2 separate regions of the Homo sapiens genome follow, and region 1 is linked to region 2. Evidence: promoter capture Hi-C in human tissues and cell types (Jung and others, 2019). All regions are on one chromosome and are shown on one strand. Each heading gives the region's core, a stretch centred on a gene start or on the middle of the fragment in contact. The rest is flanking DNA. Distances are from core to core; before and after follow the strand shown. Region 1 has its middle 19 kb from the start of SLC22A25. Region 2 holds the start of SLC22A8 (solute carrier family 22 member 8).

The links. Contacts are between HindIII fragments. The study calls those that stand out against the background at their distance.
Region 1: a contact is called between a fragment that was not itself captured here and the fragment with the promoter of SLC22A8 in region 2, in 4 of the 25 tissues and cell types used here (H1 embryonic stem cells, bladder, mesendoderm cells and 1 more).

The regions. Positions count from the first base shown.
Region 1 is chr11:63,258,708-63,265,706 of GRCh38, forward strand. No RefSeq gene overlaps it. Among named protein-coding and RNA genes, the nearest start is that of SLC22A25, 19 kb to the left of the region's middle. The HindIII fragment of the contact is 6,692 bases long and covers 432-6,999 here.
Region 2 is chr11:63,011,814-63,018,748 of GRCh38, forward strand. It overlaps SLC22A8 (solute carrier family 22 member 8), which reads right to left and starts at 4,028. Exons shown (of 11, transcript NM_004254.4): 1 at 3,916-4,028; 2 at 2,813-3,170. The coding sequence starts at 3,145. RefSeq lists enhancers at 3,033-3,887, 5,578-6,077. The HindIII fragment of the contact is 24,341 bases long and covers 1-6,935 here.

The sequences.
Region 1 (6,999 bases), core at 2,528-5,027, 250 kb after region 2:
TCTTCTTGATTAGTCTTGCTAGCAGTCTATCTATTTCAGTGATCTTTTCTAAAAACCTGCTCCAGGATTTATTGATTTTTTTGAAGGGTTTTTCATGTCTCTATCTCCTTCAGTTCTGCTCTGATCTTAGTTATTTCTTGTCTTCTGCTAGCTTTTGAATTTGTTGGCTCTTGCTTCTCTAGTTTTATCAACCGTGATGTTAGGGTGTCGATTTTAGATTTTTCCTGCTTTCTCTTGTGGGCATTTAGTGCTATAAATTTCCCTCTAAAGAGTGCTTTAGTTGTGTCCCAGAGATTCTGGTACATTGTGCCTTTGTTCTCATTGGTTTCAAAGAACTTATTTGTTTCTGCCTTAATTTCATTATTTACCCAGTAGTCATTCAGGAGCAGTTTTTTTTTTTTTTTCAGTTTCCATGTAGTTGTGTGGTTTTGAGTGAGTTTCTTAATCTTGAGTTCTAATTTGATTGTACTGTGGTCTGAGAGACTGTTTGTTATGATTTCTGTTTTTTTGTATTTTCTGAGGAGTATTTTACTTCCAATTACGTAGTCAGTTTTAGAATAAGTGCGATGTGGTGCTGAGAAGAATGTATATTCTGTTGATTTTGGCTGAAGAGTTCTGTAGATGTCTATTAGGTCTTCTTGGTCCAGAGCTGAGTTCAATTTCTGAATATTCTTGTTAATTTCCTGTCTCATTGATCCATCTAATATTGACAGTGGGGTGTTCAAATCTCCCACTATTATTTTTGGGAGTCTGAGTCTCTTTGTAGATCTCTAAGAACTTGCTTTATGAATCTGGGTGCTCCTGTACTGGATGCATATATATATTTAGGATAGTTAGCTGTTCTTGTTGCATTGATCCCTTTGCCATTATGTAATGCCCTTCTTTGTCTCTTTTGATCTGTGTTAGTTTAAAGTCTGTTTTATCAGAGACTAGGATTGCAACCCCTGCTTTTTTTTTCTTTCTTTCCACTTGCTTGGTAAATATTCCTCCATCCCTTTATTTTGAGCCTATGTGTGTCTCAGTATGTGAGATGGGTCTCCTGAATACAGGACACTGATGGGTCTTGACTCTTCATCTAATTTGCCAGTCTGTCTTTTAATTGGGGCATTTAGCCCATTTACATTTAAGATTAATATTATTATGTATGAATTTGATTCTGTCATTATGGTGTTAGCTGGTTATTTTGTCCATTAGTTGATGCAGTTTCTTCATAGATCGATGGTCTTTACAATTTAGCATGTTTTTGCAGTGGCTGGTACTGGTTGTCCCTTTCCATGTTTAGTGCTTCCTTCAGGAGCTCGTGTAAGATAGGCCTGGCATAGACAAAATCTCTCAGCATTTGCTTGTCTGTAAAGGATTTTATTTCTCCTTCACTTATGAAGCTTAGTTTGGCTGGATATGCAATTCTGGGTTGAAAATTATTTGCTTAAGAATGTTGGATATTGGTCCCCACTGTCTTCTGGCTTGCAGGGTTTTTGCAGAGAGATCCACTGTTAGTCTGATGGGCTTCCCTTCGTGGGTAACCCGACCTTTCTCTCTGGCTGCCATTAACATTTTTTCCTTCATTTCAACCTTGGTGAATCTGACAATTGTGTGTCTTGGGGTTGCTCTTTTCAAGGAGTATCTTTGTGGTGTTCTCTGTATTTCCTGAAGTTGAATGTTGGCCTGCCTTGCTAGGTTGGTAAAGTTCTCCTGGATAATATCCTGAAGAGTGTTTTCCAACTTGGTTCCATTCTCCTTTTCTCTTTCAGGTATAGCAATCAAATGCATGTTTGGTCTTTTCACATAGTCCCATATTTCTTGGAGGCTTTGTTGGTTCCTTTTCATTATTTTTTCTCTAATCTTGTCTTCACACTTTATTTCATTAAGTTGATCTTCAATCTCTGATATCCCTTCTTCTGTTTGATTGATTTGGCTATTGATACTTGTGTATGCTTCACGAAGTTCTCGTGCTGTGTTTTTCACTCCATCAGCTCACTTATATTCTTCTCTAAACTGGTTATTCTAGTTAGCAGTTCCAGTAATCTTTTTCAAGGTTCTTAGCTTCCTTGCATTGGGTTAGAACATGCTCCTTTAGCTTGGAGGAGTTTATTATTACCCACATTCTGAAGTCTACTTCTGTCAATTTGTCAAACTCATTCTCCACCCAGTTTTGTTTCCTTGCTGGTGAGGAGTTGTGATCCTTTGGGGAAGAAGAGGCATTCTGGTTTTTGGAATTTTCAGCCTTTTCGTGCTGGTTTCTCCCCATCTTCATAGGTATATCTACCTTTGATCTTTGGCATTGGTTTCTGAATGGACATCCTTTTTGTTGATGTTGATGCTATTTTTTTCTGTTTGTTAGTTCTCCTTCTAACAGTCAGGCCCCTCTGCTGCAGGTCTGCTGGAGTTTGCTGGAGGTCCACTCCAGACACTGTTTGACTGGTATCACCAGTGGAGGCTGCAGAACAGCAAAGATTGCTGCCTGTTCCTTCCTCTGGAAGCTTCATCCCAGAGGGGCACATACCAGATGCCAGGCGGAGCTCTCCTGTATGAGGTGTCTGTAGCCCCTGCTGGGAGGTGTCTCCCAGTCAGGAGACATGGGTGTCAGGGACCCACTTGAGGAGGCAGTCTGACCCTTAGCAGAGCTAGTGCACTGTGCTGGGAGATCTGCTGCTCTCTTCAGAGCCTGCAGGCAGTGGCGTTTAAGTCTGCTGAAGCTGCGCCAACAGCCACTCCTTCCCCCAGGTGCTCTGTCCCAGGGAGATGGGAATTTTATCTATAAGCCCCTGACTGGGGCTGCTGCCTTTTTTTCAGAGATGCCCTGCCTGGAGAGGAGGAATCTAGAGAGGCAGTATGGCTATAGTGGCTTTGCTGAGCTGTGGAGGTCTCTGCCCAGTTGGAACTTCGCTGTGGCTTTTTTACACTGTAAGGGGAAAACCAACTACTCAAGCCTCAGTAATGGCAGATGCCCCTCCCCGCACTAAGCTCAAGCTTAGTTCCCAGGTCGACTTCAGACTGCTGTGCTGGCAGGGAGAATTTCAAGCCAGTGGATCTTAGCTTGCTGGGCTCTATGGGGGTGGGATCCATTGAGCTAGACCACTTGGCTCCCTGGCTTCAGCCCCCTTTCCAGGGGAGTGAATGGCTGTCTTGCTGGCATTCCAGGCACCACTGGGATATGAAAAGAAATTCCTGCAGCTAGCTTGGTGTCTGCCCAAACGGCCACCCAGTTTTGTGCTTGAAACTCAGGGCTCTGGTGGTGTAGGCACCCTGGGGAATGTCCTGGTCTGTGGGTTGGGAAGACCATGGGAAAAGCATAGTATCTGGGCTGGGACTGTTCCTCATGGCACAGTCCCTCAAGGCCTCCCTTGGCTAGAGGAGGGAGTTCCTTGACCCCTTGCACTTCTGGGGTGAGGCAATGCCCCACCCTGCTTCGGCTCACCCTCCATGGGCTACACCCACTGTCTAACCAGTCCCAATGAGACGAGCCGGGTACCTCAGTTGGAAAAGCAGAAATCACCTGCCTTCTATGTTGATCTCACCGGGAGCTGCAGACCGGAGCTGTTCCTATTTGGCCGTCTTGCCAGGTCTGCCCGGTACAACATTTCTTAAGGTCCCAGAAAGGTCAAAGATTCTGTGTATTACTGAGAAACAAAGGGCCTTTAAAAAGATTAAGGACATGCCCCTCAATCAAACAACAGAGGCTCTAGGATACTTAGGTGCACTGTTTCTTCACCATCTCAGCAGAAGCCCAAGGTGAAAAGTTTATCTCAAAGATATTTGTTGGGGTAGATTTTCTCTAATAAGATAAACCACAAAGAGATTCACAGAACATCCACAACTTTTTAAAGAAATCTTTATCAGAAAAATGCTGCCAATTTGACTGCAAGGGGCAAAGACAGTACAAAAATAAAAAGGCTGTGTAGTCCTCAAAATGCTCTGGGTGGGAAGGTAGCTGAGAATACTATTCACTTAGAGGTATGTTCTGTCTTTTAAAAAAAATGTTGGATCCAAGTGGCACGAGGCTGTGGCTGAGAGCCAAATTGCTTTCATTTTTCATGCCTCCAGACCTATTCAAGGAACTTCTAATATTTGCCTAAGTGCACTTCATAATTGCTCTGAACTCCTTGTGTCTCACGTCTCCTCCATTTTGAACGGGAATGTCTACAGTAGTAATTGGATGCTTGTATTATTATTGTGTGTTGAGTGTTTTGGAGACAAGTGTCTTGTCTCTTCAGTTTCACAGATTAACAAATACAAAGATAAAAGCCAGAGAACTCCATGTAAGTAGTCTCACTTACACTTGAACCTCATTTAAATGGTAAGATTCTGGACTTTGAGTGTGTGCTATAATGAAATAATACTTTTCTGGACATTTCACACATGATAATGTAGTACATCAGAGGGATGGAATCATTTGGGACCAGAGGGTCTGGCCACAATCTGCCACAGCTGCTGTTCCATGCTGCGGAGAATTCCTGCTGGTCCAAACTGCCCAGTCTTCCTGGCACCAGCAGGGGAGAACAGCAGACTGGAGCCACAGTGATGGTTGTCTTCTTAGGCAGTCTCTGTCCTGCTGCCACTGGCTGCAACCTGGGCAGCCACCAAGAGCTTGCACAGCTCTGTGCTTGGGTCCCAAGGCCCTGGTGGTGTGGGCTCACGAGGGATCTCTTGATCCATGGGTTGCACAGATCCGTGGAAAGAGCGTGGTTTCTCAGGCAGGGTACCACAATCACTCACTCCCTCCCTTGGCTGGGAGTGGGGGCTCCCCTTACTCCATGCAACTCCTGGGTGGGCCCTCGTTCCATCTTGCTTTTTCTTACTCTCAGTGGATCATGCCAACCGCCTAGTCAGTCCCAATGAGAGAACCTGGATACCTCAGTTGAAGGCACAGGATCCACTCACCATTTTTGCTCTTCTTGGTGGGCGCCACCAACTGCAGCTGCTTCTAATAGGCCATCTTGGCCCCCTCTGCCCATCTTTTTACTGTTAATGGATATTAACTTGGACCTATGACCTGAGAAACCTTATTTATTCACTTTTTAAATTCGAATGTTTAATTAATTCATTAATTCTGCTATTTGAATTAATGGCACAGAGGCCTAAGTCTGAACACAAGGGGAAAATGAACTCTCTAACCCAGAAATATATACAGGTAATATGTAAGTGAGATAGACTCAAAGGTCACAAGTTTTAACTGAGACTATTAGATGGCATTGAGCATCTAAACTCCTCTCAGTGTCCTTGTGGGTGACATGCTTCAGTGACAGCCATGGTTGACTGCCTCCTCCAGAAGGAGCTCTGCCAGGACACAGAAAGCCCTAAATATCTCATCCTTAAGCCAAGTCATCCTGGGTTCTTACTTTGCAAAAATTACCTATTAAAGCTATTCCACAGGATCAGCATCCAGGTTAGAGGTGCAATGTCTTCCAATCCTGCGAGTGCCACAGTGCTTGCACAACCCTCAGATTTTATAATGACTATCCACTGCACATAAGCACTTACACTGCAGGTAGGAAAATATGGCCAGTCTAAAAGTGTCTGTAATGATTTATCTCACAGGATCTAGGTGGCTAAGAATATTTTCAAGGCCAATAACACTGTTTCACAAATTTGTGCTTTCAAACAGGAAGGCACCTTCTGCCTCAAACCGCTTTCCTCTCCCTGTATTGAGCTAACTTCTATATGTAAATGTAAAATCCTGTAAACTACTCTAAAAATCCCTTCTTGAAACTTCTTTGAATCCTATTTAGATGTCTTTTTCTGTCCTTGTTGATGCAGTACAATGAACAGATCATATCCAACTATAATTTCTAATTCAAACACCAAGTATTCTTAATCAGCTGTAGCTTCCTGAAGTCAGAAAGAGAGATCAGCACATAGCACAGTGCAAAGTATACAGTTAGTGCTTACTAAATATTTATAAAATAAAGAAATGAATATATCACCTGAAAAATAGCCCCAAAGAAAGTTAAATGACACTCACCTGTCTGAAAGATGGCCATATATTAGACCTCCCAGCAGTGACCCAGCCCTAAGTAGGGATTGAATCATTAATTTTTTTTTTTTTTTTTGAGACTGGGTCTCACTCTGTCACCCAGACTGGAGTGCAGTGGTGCGATCTCAGCTCACTGCAACTTCCACCTCCCAGGCTCAAGCAATTCTCCTGCCTCAGCCTCCCAAGTAGCTGGGATTACAGGAGTGTGCCACTACCACCCGATTAATTTTAGTCACTGAGATTCACATACCAGGTACCACTAGAAGAGAAGGAAATCAGCATAGCAGAGCTTGAGAAGAGTTTCAGCTCTTTTATGGAAACTGACTCCAAACACTGACATATGTACACAATCCTCAGCTATGCGGGTCCTGCCTCCCTCTCTAGATTCATCTATAGACACTACGCTCTAGTAGCCCAAATTCTAAAACTAAACTTATTTCAGGCTTTCAAATGCAGCTGCCTCTCCCTCTCAATTCCCAGCCTTCCAACAGTCTGTATTCGTGTGTCTACATGTCTTTATTCATTTTCCCCTCAGACCACCTTTTATTGTGTTGTTATACACATTCTTTGGGTATTATAATTAAAAACATATAAGGACACAATTTTTTTAAAAAACTTCAGTTACCTAAATTTAAAAAATATATTAGAAACCCATAATTTTACAGGAAGGCTTTTTTTCATCATGTAGGCCACATGAGGGCCTTGCCATTGACTTCACTTAGCAGTTTATAATTCAACTACTACAATAACTATCTTTTTTTTTGGCCACACATTGAATCGCTTGAAGTGCTTCAAAAATACTGATCCCTGGATTCTGTACTCAGAGGTTACTTGCTGTGGATATCAGTTTTGCAATGAGTATTGAGAACACTAACCTAGCATAATGTTTGCCAAACAGTATTTCAATTACTTTAAACACTGTAGGTCTTTCTCACTAAATTAGACGATATAATAGGAGGTTCATGTTGAGTTTGTTTGGCTCATTCACTCAATACTAATGCGCTTGACTGTATTGTAGAGTTGGT
Region 2 (6,935 bases), core at 2,778-5,277:
CAGTCACTGGCTCCCCATTGCCCTTAGGACAAAGGCCACACCTTTACCTCTGTAGCATCCAAGCTGGGCCCTCTTGCTGTCCTCTCTAGCTCCATGTCTGGGGACCTCCATATCCTACTGCTCACTCCTCCAGCCTTCCCCTGGAAACTGCAATCTTGACTTTTTGCTCTCTTTTTCTTTTTTTTTTTTTTTGAGATGGGGTTGTCTTGCTCTGTGCCCAGGCTGGAGTGCAGTGGTGTGATCTTGGCTCACTGCAACCTCCGCCTCCTAGGTTCAAGCAATTCTCCTGTCTCAGCCACTTGAGTAGCTGGGACTACAGGTGTGCACCACCACACCTTGCTAATTTTTATGTTTTTAGTAGAGACAGGGTTTCACCATATTGGCCAGGCTGGTCTCAAACTCCTGACCTCAGGTGATCTGCCTGCCTTGGCCTCCCAAAGTAGCTGGGATTACAGGTGTGAGCCACTGCACCCGGCCTTTCTTCTTGCTTCTGTGCCTTTGCATTTGACCCTCCTTCCCCGCCACTCTTCCTTTTGCCTGGGGTTCACTGCTCACTAACTCTCACCTCCCAAAGTGCTGGGATTACAGGCATGAGCTACTGCGCCCGGCCTTTCTTCTTGCCTCTGTGTCTTTGCGTTTGACCCTTCTCCCCCACCATCCTTCCTTTTGCCTGGAGTGCGCTGCTCACTAACTCCTACCTCTCCATGCCCAGTGTGGGCATTACTGACTCCAGCAAGCCCGCCTCAATCCTCACTCCAGGCTGGTTAGATAACCCTCCCCTGGGCCTCAGAGCACTCTGAGTGTACAAAGCGCATATTCATTCATTCCACAGAACACCTCCTCTGTACCAGGCACTATTCTAGCTGCTGCAGATAAGAGTAGTAAACAAAGCAGCAGAAAATCCCTGCCTTGGGAAACGTGTGTATTCCACCAAACTGCCCATGATCCTTGAGAGCGGGTCTGCGTCTCGCTGGTGGTGTGCTCCTGGAGGGAACGCAGGGCTAGCGGCTCTTCGACTTTATGTCCTCAGTATTATGCACTGGGTGTCAATAAATGGATACTTGATGGGTTTCAGGCATTATGCTTGGTGCTGGGGGGAGAAAGTAGCAAACATGACAGGGAGGAGATATAATCTAGGTATATGAGAGCAGCAAATGTCATGGTGTGGAGGGCAGGTGTGTGTGTTTGGGTCCTGAATCTGCCACTTATTAGCTGTGTGACCTCGAGCAAGCTACTTAACCTCTCTGTGCTTCAGTTTCCCCATCTGAGAGAGAGAATTACAATACAAACTATCTTACAGTGTGTTCAGGAAGGTTAAAAGTGTTAATATCTGTGAAGCTCTTAGAACAATGCCTACCACATAGTAAGCACTTTATATAAAAATATTTGTTAAACAAATGAATAACAATCACACAGACTCTGAACATAGCCCTAAATTCAAATCCTGCCTCTGCCAGGTTCTAGCCGTGTATAACATGGGAAGGTCATGGAATCAAGCTGAGCCTCAGTTTCCTCATCTGTGAACTGGAGATAATACTTCTCTTAAAGAGATTACATCTCCTGGGCCTCCAGGAACCCACAGATGTATAGTGCTTGGCACCAGGTAAGGGCTTTGCAACGAACGCATCTCTTCTCATGAGGCAAAACAGGCTCCTGCCCTTGAGGGGTTCATGGTACCCAAGGGAGGATGAAAACACTGGTCTCTGCTCACTGCTCAGACGCCACCTCCTCCATGAAGCCTCCCTTGAATCCAACAGTTTCTCCCTCATTTGGACCCCCGTAAACATTTGTCTCCCTGTACTTCTTATGGGCTTTAGCTGTAAATTCCAGTTCTGAAACTGACCAGCCATGTGGCACTGGACAATCATTTCCTTTCTCTGGGTCTTAGGTTTTTTATTTTTAAAAATTCTGTAAGGGGAGATAGAAATCACCTTCAACGGAGCATCACGTTGGAATCAAACAAGACAGTGTCTACAAAGCCCCCAAATGTGCCTGTCAGTTAGTGACGCCCAATACATGCCAATCCCCAATTTCTCATCTTCATCCTATCATAGGCTCCTGACTGGCCTGTCAGTTCATTGAAGAGTCTGATTTAACTCTGGATTTCCCCGAGGTGGCAGGTGAGAGAGTCAATGAATCAGTGAAGGGCTGTGGGAATGAGAGGTGAACCCATGAGTGACTGTGTGTGTGTGGATGAGACATTTTCTGGGTCTGCTGTGGAGTGTTTCAAGCCTCCCCTCTGTGCGGTCCCTCCTCCACAGCCCTCCCACCTTGGGGTCTTTGCACAAGACGGACTTTTCCTCCTTTCCCTCACTGCCTGTTTGGCCCTTGACTGATGTTTATATCTCAGTTCCAGGGGCATTTCTGTAGGGAGGATTCCTTCAACACCCATTCCCCACGCCCTCACTCTCACACCCACCCCAGAGGTCGGTCATAGTGCAAGGTCACTTTGAAGTTGCAATTTTACACTTATTTGTGTGGTGTTTTCCTTAATGGGTGCTATCTCCACCGGGCTGTAGACCCCCTGGGAGCAGGCATGGTGCATTTTTGTATTCCCAGAGCTTAGCTCTGTGCCCGTCACAGAACAGGCCCTCAGTAGCAGTTTGTTGAAGCACTGCTTGGACTCTGAGTGGGAAGAAGCCAAGGGTCTTGGTGCATGAGCTTCTGCACTCAGGTCCTTCCTCTTTGCCTGCCCAGTGACCTGTCCTCAGTTCCTGGGAACACCAGACCCCAGCCTCCTCTGCTGCCCACCAGCGGTGCAGGGTATGGGGGTACGTGGGTAAGTGGAGGGAGAGGGTTTGCCCAGGCATACCTCTGTCACAATGGAGTCCTTGGTGCTGTTGTAGACCCAGCCATCCAGGCATGGCTCCATGGCCCTCTGGGTGTCATTGGGCAGGCTGGCATTGGGCGGATGTACAAAACGGAGGCACCTCTCAGGCTTCCCATTTGGGCCCATGGGGAGCACCCAAGGCCCTGTGGAGGCATTGTGGGGCGGGCGACAGTGGTGGACAGGGGTGGCGGCTGTGAAGATCTGCAGCAGGTTGTGGTTGGCCATGTTGAGGATCGGGAGGCCCAGTATGGCTACATGCAGGAACTGGAAATGGCCCATGCTTCCCACACGGTCCAGGATCTCCGAGAAGGTCATGGCACTGGGGCAAGACGAGCCAGAGCTGTGGGCAGGGCATAGGCCAGGGAGAGGTATATTTGTGCCTGGTAGTGCGTGGGTCTATGGAACGATATGTGGGAGGGTGAACCAGGTGGATATGCGAGCACAGGTGTGTGGAGCAGAGCATGTGTAAGTGTGTAAAGATGTGGAAGCTCAGGCATGTGGAGCCGCAGATTCTTGTGTGGATGTCTGAGGAAGAGCCCAGCTGCACGGAGGGCTGTGGGATCAAAGGTGGAAGTGTGTGTCCAGGTGTGTGGACACAAAGGTATCTATGGGTATGTGCTCATTTAGGCTGCAGCATAAGGACACAGCTGCGTGAGCTCGGGTATGTGTTGTGAGCGTGTGCACCTGCGGACACGAGCATGTGTGTGCTCAGCTAGGCTGGTTGCACATGCTGCATGCATGGAGCAGTGCAGGACACGTAGCAGGGACCAAGGGGCCCAGCCTTGGATGTTGGCTACAAAGGACAGATTAGAGGGTGGGTGGTGAATGTCCCCAGTTGCTCCAGGCAGATACACAGGGTTAGCAGAGTTCAGGTTGTCTGCTGGGAAAGGCCTCCCCAAGCTCAGAGCCTCCTGGCTTCTGGCAGTTCCCTGGGGCTGGGCCCACCATGCTGGAGTATCTGTAAGAGCCCGAAGCAGGTCTCAGAGGGCACTAGGGGCTTGGCTAGTCGCAAGTGGAGCCTGGCCTTGGGAGATCCCTGGGATTCCTAGGTGCCTGGGCTGGGGAGGCCCTCCATCCCTCCTCACCTGGTGGCCGGGTCTGGATCCGATGGGGCTGGTGATCAGTGTAGTTGAGGTCCCTGCTCTGTCCTAGGGGCCGGCAGCTGCTGTAGTAGGGCAGCTCAGCTCTAACAAGCTGTGTTTGTGCCTCCCCCAGGGGGGCTTATATAAGGCATAAGCTGTTTCCCGGGCTAATGTTTGACTTTCTTTTGCGGATTAACGTCACTGGCAGGGAGAGTGCTGTGGACCCACCAAGCCCAGCTCTCCTCAAAGGGCTGCCTCAGCGAGGGCCGCTGGGGGTGGGGCAGCGTGGCTGAGCCTAGCAGGGCTGCTGGCTGGACACCACGGGCCCAAATGGGAAGTCTGAGACGTGCCTCCGTTTTGTACATCCGCCCAACGCGAGCAGCCCTGGCAGGCTCACCGAGGGGAGATTCTGGGAAGGAATCTGGCCTGACCTCTGAGGGTTCAAGGTCCCTCTCAACTGATGTTCAGAGGACTTGATGCTGAGGACAACCAATGGGAAAGGCACTGGTGCCCGTAAGCAGGCAGCATTCTCCTGTGTGCTACCTCCCCTGCCTGGCACCTCCCGAGTAGGGGAAGGGGATTTGCCTCTCAGGAAGTGTTAGGGCACACCCAGACAGAAAATGTCACTTTCATCTATCCCTGAGGACGCAGGGCTGCCATCTCCTGGGCCCCTGGGGCAGCCAGGACCTCCGTGTCTGTGTCTCTGACACAGGTGAACTGCCCCCTTCCATCCCACCCTCAATGGACAGGCTTCTCTCCTGATCAGCCGCTTCCCCCTGGGGACCAAATGTAGTCCCTGCTGTTTTATTTTCACTCTGAATATTATTTTAATTATATAATAATGTGTGTTTCCTGCATAAAACATGGGAAATACAGACAAGCCAAACAAAACAAATCAAAACAAAGCAAAATGTCCAGTCTCACCTGAGAGCCTATCTGTTCTTCTGGTCTTTTCCTCAGCAGAGACTTCAGTCTAAGACCTCAACTTCTAGCCACCAACATTAGGCTCTTTTAACCCTCACGGCAGCCCTGTGACTAGTCTAGCATTAATAATTAGGGAACTGAGGCAAAGGGAGATTAAGTGACCTCCTCACCATCCCCCAGCCAGGAAGCACAGGGCAGGGGCAGGGTGGCCCTAAGCCTATTCCCTCCCTTAGAACCAACATTCTCTACGAAGCCTATGGGGGCACTGTACTATTAATATATTGCCTCTCCCTTAAAGAGCCACCTAGAGGTCTGGGCGGGGTGGCTCAAGCCTGTAATCCCAGCAGTCTGGGAGGCCAAGGTGGGTGGGTCACGAGGTCAGGAGTTCCAGACCAGCCTGGCCAATATGGTGAAACCCCATCTCTACTAAAAATACAAAAATTAGCCAGGCATGTGGCACGCGCCTATAGTCCCAGCTACTTGGGAAGCTGAGGCAGGAGAATCACTGGAACCCAGGAGGCAGAGGTTGCAGTGAGCCAAGATCGTGCCACTGCACTCCAGCCTCGGTGACAGAGCAAGACTACGTCTCAAAAAAAAAAAAAAAAAAGTCACCTAGGCTGGTCTTCAACATCACTCCTGCCTGCCTTTACCTCTCTGTTCCTACCTCCAGAAACCCCTGGGAGCTGCCCCTTCCCACCTGCTCTAGGGGCTAGGGAGGGGCCCCTTTAGGGCTCCCCTTCTTGGTTGGGGAGGGCTTTCCATTCTCCTCCTGGGCCCCCCTCTCCACCAAGGCAGTATCCAGCCCCCAGGGTCCAGACTGAGCTTCCCTCCTACCGCAGGGCAGGGTCAGCTGGTCAACCTGGGTCCAGCCCTGCCCCTCGGCTTCCCACCTGGGCCCAGCAGTTATTGATGTTCTCAGAGTGGCCTGAGGCAGGGCGAGATCTGGAGTCATCAAAGGAAGATTAAATTATGCTCCAAGGCAGCCAAGGGGTTGTTTTAGGAAGATTTTCGACTGTGAGGCTTGCAGTGAGCTGGGCTGCCGCCCTGAGCTCCCCCTGTTCTGGGCATTTGGCCTCTTGGAGATTTTCTGGTTCCTAATTGGCTTGGGTTATCCATCTGTTCCTGTCCTAGTGGAATGTTGTTTAAAGGAGCCTGGTGACTCCCCGCTGAGGCTGCTGGAGTTAAGCCAGAGTATACATATCTGAACTGCCCAGCCAGGGGCAGCTGCATCCGGGCAGCGCCCCCCAACCCCTAATGGATGTGATTGGATTAGTGATATCAGGAATTGTGTGATGCACTTGTTATATGACCTTGGACAAATCACTCTCTCTGTGCCTCTTGTTTCTCTTCATTAGTTAAGTGGCTTTTTAAAAAAAAGCACCAGAAACCTTTTATTCAAACAATATATTGGGTTCATAAGATCAATGTATAAAGCAGACAATAGAGGTGCTCTGGCTAAAGTGGGGACTGTGGGTGTGGGGGGATGCTTCAGCTAAAGTGGGAGAGAAAGTGACCAGAAGAGCCCTGCCTCCGTCACGCTACCTCTCCCTCCGTCACCCTACCTCTCCCTCCGTCACCCTTCCTCTCCCATCCCACACGCTTCATCCTTCCCTTTGGGATTCTCTGCCCCAGGCAGTCCCTCCCCAAGTCAAATCCACCTTATTGGGGGATCTATCACTTTTTACATGCTGTGATCCTAAATTCAATATGTTCAAATTAACTTTTTTTTTTTAAAGACACTATAAATTTGGGAAATCTTACATGCTAGATGCATTTTTAATTTGGGATATGGAAATAGATTTTCTTTCTCTTTTTCTCCTTCCCTCTCTCCCCACTCCCACCCTTCCTCCTCCCACCTTCTCTCTTTTCATCTTTTCTCTGAACTCTTCCAGGGGCTCCTTTAAGCTGACCTGGGTTCAGTCTCCCCTGTTCTCTGCTGGGTCCTGGCATGGACCTGTGTTTTGAGCTGGAAGGGCCTATGAAATCATCTAGTCCGACATTCTCATCTTATCTATGGGAAACTGAGGTGCAGGGAGGGGAGCAGCACTGGCCTGATTCCCCGCTTCCCTGGCACCTCCACACAGTGGACACTCTTTGAA